2 separate regions of the Homo sapiens genome follow, and region 2 is linked to region 1. The links are contacts of gene promoters, found by promoter capture Hi-C in human tissues and cell types (Jung and others, 2019). All regions are on one chromosome and are shown on one strand. Each heading gives the region's core, a stretch centred on a gene start or on the middle of the fragment in contact. The rest is flanking DNA. Distances are from core to core; before and after follow the strand shown. Region 1 holds the start of GLI2 (GLI family zinc finger 2). Region 2 overlaps GLI2 (GLI family zinc finger 2).

Region 1 (3,460 bases), core at 923-3,422:
AAGTAATCAGCCAACGCGGCTAATATTCCAGCAATGAGAAATGATTCCCTACATGTCATGGGGCAGATATGAATAGGGTCATTAAAATATGGCCAAGGAGGGGAGGGAGAGTTTACTTTTTCTGTCTCCTTAGAGTCTGTGTTCTGAAAGCTCAGCAGGAATTTAAACAAATAGCACGGAGGAATGGTGAATCTGATCATCTTTAAAGAAAAAGCCCCTTTCAAACTTCTCTTTAAATCATTGGCTTATGCAAGTTTCGCTTTTTAAAAATGCTGCCGACCTTTTCCCCCCAAACAAAATTAGCATCAAATTGTTCTAATATTTTTCTGCATATTTTTTTCTCTAGGTCAAGAAGAAATTGTTGCTCCATCATATAAGTGAATGTCAGGAGGAGGAAGGAGGATCTTAAGGAATGAAGTTCTAATGCATCCTCTTTGATTAAAAAGTAAAAGAATAAAGTTAGCAGAGGATAAAAGGTATATGGAGAGAGCCACCCACAAAAAGGGTTGCACCGGTGAAATGGGCCTGTGTAGGTCACATCCCCTCAGGGAGGGTAGCATTGGGTCCCTTGCATTTCAAATAAAATGCAATTTTAGGAACAGGGGCTGAAGGGAGAGACACTTCCACCCACCTCAACAGGGCAATTTTTTAAAAATTTAATTTAATTAATTTATTTTTTTGAGACAGAGTCTCGCTCCATCACCCAGGCTGGAGTGCAGTGGCGCCATCATGGCTCACTGCAACCTCCATCTCCCAAGGGGTTTGAGAGATTCTCCAGCCTCAGTCTCCCAAGTAGCCGGGATTACAGGCGCGCGCTACTATCCCTGGCTAATTTTTTGTATTTTTAGTAGAGACGGGGTTTCACCATGTTGGCCAGGCTGGTCTTGAACTCCTGACCTCAGGTGATCCCCGTGCCTCGGCCTCCCAAAGTGCTAGGATTACAAGCGTGAGCCACCGCGCCCGGCCCAACAGGGCAAATTTAACTGAACTTACAGTACAACCACCCGAAGCTCTGGGAGGATGGCAGAGTGCTCTGACCTTAGACTAGTTACTTAACTTTTTAAAGCATCAGACTTCCCACCTGTAAAAACACGAGAAGAGAACCTTCCTTACAGAGCTGTGAAAGTCCAATAATACAAAGAAAATATAACATCACCTGGCACTTGGTAGAGTGTTCTACAAACGTTAGGAAGAATAAAACCAGAAATTCCCCCCAAGACCCTCTTCGGGTGAGGCCCAGGGGCCCTGGAGAGGGTGGCAGGCCCGGGGGTGTGGGGAGGACACTTTAGCCAGCTGCCCCCAATTCTCCTCCAAGCCTGGCGGCCCAGTTCCGGGCTGTGGTGTGGCTTGAGGGCCCAGGGCTCCTCACTGAGCTTGCTTAAGCAAGTTCTTTCACACACAGCCCCATATACACTTTGGCTAGAAAATTCAATGAGGAGTTTTTTCTTCCTTCTTTCTCTGTTGTTGTTGGGTTCTGATTACTTCCATCTGGCTTCAGCGGCTCGAGTGGAGTCTCTAAAACACACAACACAACAAAACAAAAACCCACCCTGCAAGCCACATGCACCAAACCTAGAAGGCTGCTTCGTTTCTCGCCAGCGTGTGCTCAGATGGCGACGAGGGCTAGCGGCGGCGGGGGACGCCTCAGGACCCCCGGCACCTGCGCTCGCTGCCCGCGGGAAGAGGGTCCGCGTGGACCCAGCCCCCGCGTCCCTTCTCTGGCGTCCCCGGCTTCCGCGCGGGCGTCCAGAGAAGCGGGCGCCCTGGGAACAGCGACCCAGGCATCTCCCCGAGGAGGGAAGTGGGAGGTGGGGAGGGCGGGGGGATTTCAGAGATTGAAAACAGAGCAGCCCTTGCCCCTCAGCTCCGGAGCTCATCTGACTTGAGTTAGCGACACCCCCAACCCCCCCCCCCACACCTAGTCGTCTAAAAAAAGTGTCGGAGATTGGCGCGTCCTTTGGTTCCTTTCTCGAACTTTCCTTGTAGGTGCGTTTTCTTTCCTTGGTGCTGGGTGGGGAGAGTCCCTGTGCTCCCCCTTTCCCCTCCCCCCGCCCCGGCGGCGTTCGGGTCCCCCTGCGTCCCCCGGCAGGGAGCGGGCGGGCTGGCTGGCGGGTTCTTGGGGCCCGGGTGTGCCCGCACCGTGCGCGCGGGGGCGCTGCGCAGTCCGGCGGCGCTGATGGATTGCAGAAGTGCCGGCGCTTGCCAGCCGAGGCAGCACGGCTCCGCGGACTTTTTTTCAAACTCCCATCAATGAGACTTCGAGGAGGAGCGGGCGGCGGCGGCGGCTGCGACTGCGAACGCGGAGGAAGGCCAGGAGCCGCAGGAGGAGCCGGAGGAAAGAGCTTGGGCCGCGCGGCGCGCCGCAGCCTCGGGGAGCCGCCTGCTCGCCGGCGGTAGGGGCTGCGCGGCGCCCGCCCGCCTCTCGGTCCCCTCTCTTGCCTGGCCCGCCCCGCCCCGGCTGGCTGGAGCCCCGGCACAAGGCAGCCAGCCGAGGGTCGCCGCGCCAGCCAAGGTGGGATGGGGGCCCACAGCCACCGCCCGGCGCCCGAGAGGCCACCTGCGTGCTAGAGGCAAACTTTTGTCTCTCTCGGTAAAGTTGCATTGGCCTTCTTTTGCTTGCTTTTCGTGACGAAGCGCCTCCCACCTCGGCCAAGCGCGGGCCGACTGGGATGCTGCGCCGTCTCGGGGGGTCCCTCGGCCGGGTACCGGCGCCTAGGCCTTGGGATCGGGGCCCTGGGCTTCGGGGGACTAGAGGCTAGTAGGCGCGACCCCGCCTGGGGCTCTGGACGAGCAGGGCGGGGACGTAAGGAGAGTCCTGGGGCTTGGAGCTCGTGGCCAGAGGTCGATGTTGCACCCTCTCCCTACCTGGGGGAGAGCACCACTCTTCTCGGGGTGCACAGCGAGCCGGCCTCCGCGCGCCGGCGGGGGTCTGTTTTTTCAGGGGGTGGAGGGTGGGATCGGAGGCTGGGATGCTCCGAAGCTGCCGTAGGTGGGCATGGGAGCGTGTCTGCGGGCGTACTGAGCGCGGAGGGGCTGCAGCCAGCCACTTGAGAACTTCGAACTCCACTTCTCCGCGCTGCGCGTCCCGGAGCCCTGCCTTTCTTTCTTCCTTCCTCAATCCTTCCTCCCCCTCGCCCGGCCCGGCCGCCCCCTCCCCCTCTGCTGGGCTCTCCTCCTCGGCCCCCCCTCTTTGCCTCTCTTCTCCTCCTCTCCTGCCCTCGGCCCTGAGATCCGCTTGACTTCCCAAAGGGATCCGCACGTAATCCTTTGCCGGGTCCTCCGGTTCCCCCTTCCACCTCACTTTCATCCCTGCCCCCCTACTCATCGTCTCTCCCCACCCCCGACAATCTCTCAACAAGTATATTTGCTGAGGAATTTGAAAAATCCACTACTGCAACTTGATCTGTATGTGATGGATGGGGAGAGGCGCGGAGAGAGTTGGGCGCCAATCCTATTAAGG
Region 2 (3,442 bases), core at 455-2,954, 86 kb after region 1:
ACGTCAGAGGCTGATGCTGGCGGCAAAGAAGCTGGTGGCAGGAGGAGGCGGAGAGCTGCCTTGAGGCACTCCGGGGGTGGGCTCCTGGCCTGGGACCCTGCCCCAGCAACCCCCAGGTAGGCTGGCTGTGGATGTGTGGGCTCCGGACACCCTGCGGGGACGGCTGCTGTCCACGCCAGTGTGTGGACGTGTGTGCACACCCTGTGTGTCTGTGTTTCTTCTCTTTGTGAGAGTTAGCCTTCTGCTGTGGCAAAAACTTCAGTGGAGAAGGAAAGAGTGAGCGCTGGAGAGGGTAGCTTTTTTTCTAGTGGGAAGGGGACTGACTTCTTTAAACAAACACTCAAGTGTTCCAGTGGCCACGGAGCAGGCAGATGTGGGCCACACTGCATCTTCCAGGGTTTCTCTATGCCACTTGGGGTGCAGTCTTGAGTGGCCAGAGGAGCAGTTTGCTGAGGTGGCTTAAGAACATGTTTTCTCATCTGTCTGTGACCAGGAGGCGTTTCGAAGGGCTTGCCATGTGCCGACTCAGTAACTAGTGTGTGGCCTCCCGGTGGTTTCAGATGCCTTGCCAAGGCCGACCCACCCACCTCCTCGAGGAAATGCAAAAAGTGTTTTCAGGGCCCAGAACACTAAGCCTGGGATGATCTGCTCCTCCCTGACTGGCAGCCTGTCTTGCGTGGGCGGCTGAGCTCGCAGCCACCAGGACCTGATGGGGACAGTGTTTCCTGGGGCCTCTGTACGGGGGAGGTTCTCTCGAGTTGCAAAGGTGCAGATGCGCCAGGAGGGTTCTTGGCCCCTAGGCTTCATGGATAGAGTTTACTAGGACAAGCAAAGGCCTGGTGTGCGATCTGTTTTCCTATTTGACTGGATGTTGGGAGAAAAATGTCCAAATTAGGGATGGGCCCATGGCTCAGCTGAGCAGAACACTGGGTGAACTTCTACTGTGAAAGAAATAGCAGATCCGGCGGACATTTATGGGCGACAGAGAAGGGTAGCTCAGCATTGAGGAGGGAGTTTGGTCTCATTCTGGCCGAGACTGTCAAATCCTCGGATGGGCTTGTAAACCAGCTCCTGGCCTAGCCTCATCAAACGTGAGGATGAGGAAGAGAGAGCCTGGTGGGCCCTGGGGAGGGGACCTGCACTCTCAGTGGGACACCTGGTGACCAGTAAGCCTGGTCCACTGCCCTTCCTCACCCTCTCGTCTTTCTAATAAACAGAGGGGAGGTGCCTGTGCATAGACTTGGGGACTATTACATTGACTCAGAAAGACCCTCTTTTCCCTTTTGCCCCAACCAGTGCTTTACGAGGTTGCCTAAGCCTGTGCTGCGACCCCCAGAGGCAGGTGCAACCCCATTTTACAGATGGGGATGCTGAGGCTCTTCACCAGGGCCGCCCAGCTGGATGGCAGTGGGGTGGGTCACACCGAGCCTCCTTTCCCCTGGGCTGGGCTGCCACCCGAGGCCCCCACTATGTGTTCCTGTTTGCCTTTGACTCCACGGGGGCCGGGAGAAAGTGGCACTGGGGATGCCACCAGGCTGCTTGTCAACTGGCCTTTGCTGTGTTCCACACCTCTGACATGGAGGTGAGGCTGTGGTGGCTAAGACCGGGCGGTGGGCCGAGTTCATGTTCCTGCTATGCCAGTGATAGCTGGACGAGACCTAGAGCAAGGCTGTGAACTCTTGTGGCCTTGGAGTTCTTGTCTGTGCAGCATCCTTTCGGGTGCAAGGATTGTTACAAGGGTTGAGTGAGCTGTTATCAGCGAAGCACTGAACAGTGTCTGGAAGGTGATAAACTCAACAAAGTGTCTCTGGAGTTAGAGCAGCCTTCTTGTGGTCCCTGGACCCAGCAGTGTGCTATGGGCATAGTGCCCTGCACAGCGGGTCCAGCTCAAGGGACAGGGACAAAATGACCTTTTCAGAAGCGTGTTAGGAAACAGCCCGATGGGCCCTAAGGCTCCAGAACCTTTGTGTTCCCTGAATCCTGACCCTCACAGGGTCCTTGCATGAACTTGACACAATTAATACCAAGAGAGATGGTGCTGTCCCCATTCCACCCCTTTGCATGTGGCTGAAGGTCACAAGGATAGCAAATGGAAATGCCTCCGCAAATCACCTGTTTACTATTTTTCTGATTATTAAAGTGATTGAAAATGTGATGACTGTGGAAAAGCCCAATGAACATATCATTATGTTCTTCCCTGATTCCACCTCCCAAGGATGACCCTCACTCACATGTTAGTATGTTTCTTTCCAGTTCTTTCTTTCCATGCCATACTTCCCTTCCAATGGAAGGTTCAATTAAGGACGTTAAAATACAACAACAAAACACACAAAAGTAACTCCCTGGGCTTTTGAAATTCAAAGCTTCAGAGGAAATGGTACGAATGCAACCCAAATGGCAAATTTCCCATCTGATTTTATTTTCAGTACACTCTGAACCCATCTTCTGCCCCTTACCCTAGCTCTTCCTCAGGCAACCTTGAGTTTCCTTCTCTAAGGGGAATCTTGCAGGAGTGGTCTAGGACTGGGAGGCTGAGGGGGCATTGGAGGAGACACCTGGACAGGTGTGCACAGAGGTGGATGTGAGAGGTGGATGAAGGACATCCCAACAGGGAACCTGCTCCCACCCCCTGCACCCCCCGCCACCCGGCTGTGTGTTTCCCAGGCGAGGCTGTGTTTGACATGCAGCGGCCGCACACCGTCTTTGGTATGCCGTTTGGTCCCGGACTTAATGAGTTCTGCAGGGACGCTCCACTGTAGCTAAAGATCATTTACCTGAATTGCTTTTTAATTTCTGCCGTGGGAAGCTGCCCCCGGTGTGATATAATTACATTATAATTTACAGCAATCCCAAATCTATAAATTTAGCCATACAGTGGGGGGAAGGGACTGGAGTTGTGTGTGGGGCTGGGGGAGAAATCCCCCCCATCATTAAGTAAACCCACATTTCTGGGTGCAGGTTCCAGTCCCTGGGCAGGTGTGGAGGAGGCAGAGAGGGACATCACTCGCCCAGTACACGCTGAAGTGTGCTTTAACACCACAGAGCATTCGGGCTGGAGCTGCTAGTGGGAGAGGATGAGAGAGTGATGTGACATTCTTTCTGATCTGCCCTCTTATAGCATTTTTGCTGTGGGATGTGGGGAGCACACAGAAGTGGGTAGCCTGGGGACATCTATGGAATGCCTAGCATTGGAAGGCAGGGATCGGAATCCTTCCCTGATTCTCTTATGGGAAGATCTCCCGGCTGTGGGCTGTGGAGAGGAGAGCTGGGCCTCAGGGTGGAGTCCCGGGGATGTCTCTGGGCAGATGGAGCCACTCCCTGGGAGCTTGTGGCATGTGCGGAAGTGAAGCCGTGTGGGATTCCGATAGGCCTAGGCGAAGGCGCAGTACCATGCAGGCCAAGGGAGGGGTTTCCTTTCTGCACCCACAAAAGGGTTCACATT

What was found. The method cuts DNA at HindIII sites, captures the fragments that hold promoters and counts their contacts. A contact is called where the count stands out against the background at its distance.
Region 2: a fragment that was not itself captured here is called in contact with the fragment with the promoter of GLI2 in region 1 in 3 of the 25 tissues and cell types used here (H1 embryonic stem cells, mesendoderm cells and thymus).

The regions. Positions count from the first base shown.
Region 1 is chr2:120,733,696-120,737,155 of GRCh38, forward strand. GLI2 (GLI family zinc finger 2) reads left to right here and starts at 2,173. Exons shown (of 14, transcript NM_001374353.1): 1 at 2,173-2,590. It overlaps LOC124906073 (a long non-coding RNA gene), which reads left to right. Exons shown (of 3, transcript XR_007087219.1): 3 at 347-1,155. It overlaps LOC124907881 (a long non-coding RNA gene), which reads right to left. Exons shown (of 2, transcript XR_007087221.1): 1 at 2,866-3,460. RefSeq lists enhancers at 802-1,449, 2,089-2,258, 3,377-3,460. The HindIII fragment of the contact is 8,822 bases long and covers 1-3,460 here.
Region 2 is chr2:120,820,447-120,823,888 of GRCh38, forward strand. The region is part of intron 2 of GLI2 (GLI family zinc finger 2); the gene reads left to right. Among named protein-coding and RNA genes, the nearest start is that of GLI2, 86 kb to the left of the region's middle. RefSeq lists enhancers at 1,358-2,023, 2,860-3,442 and a silencer at 3,156-3,367. The HindIII fragment of the contact is 6,634 bases long and covers 1-3,442 here.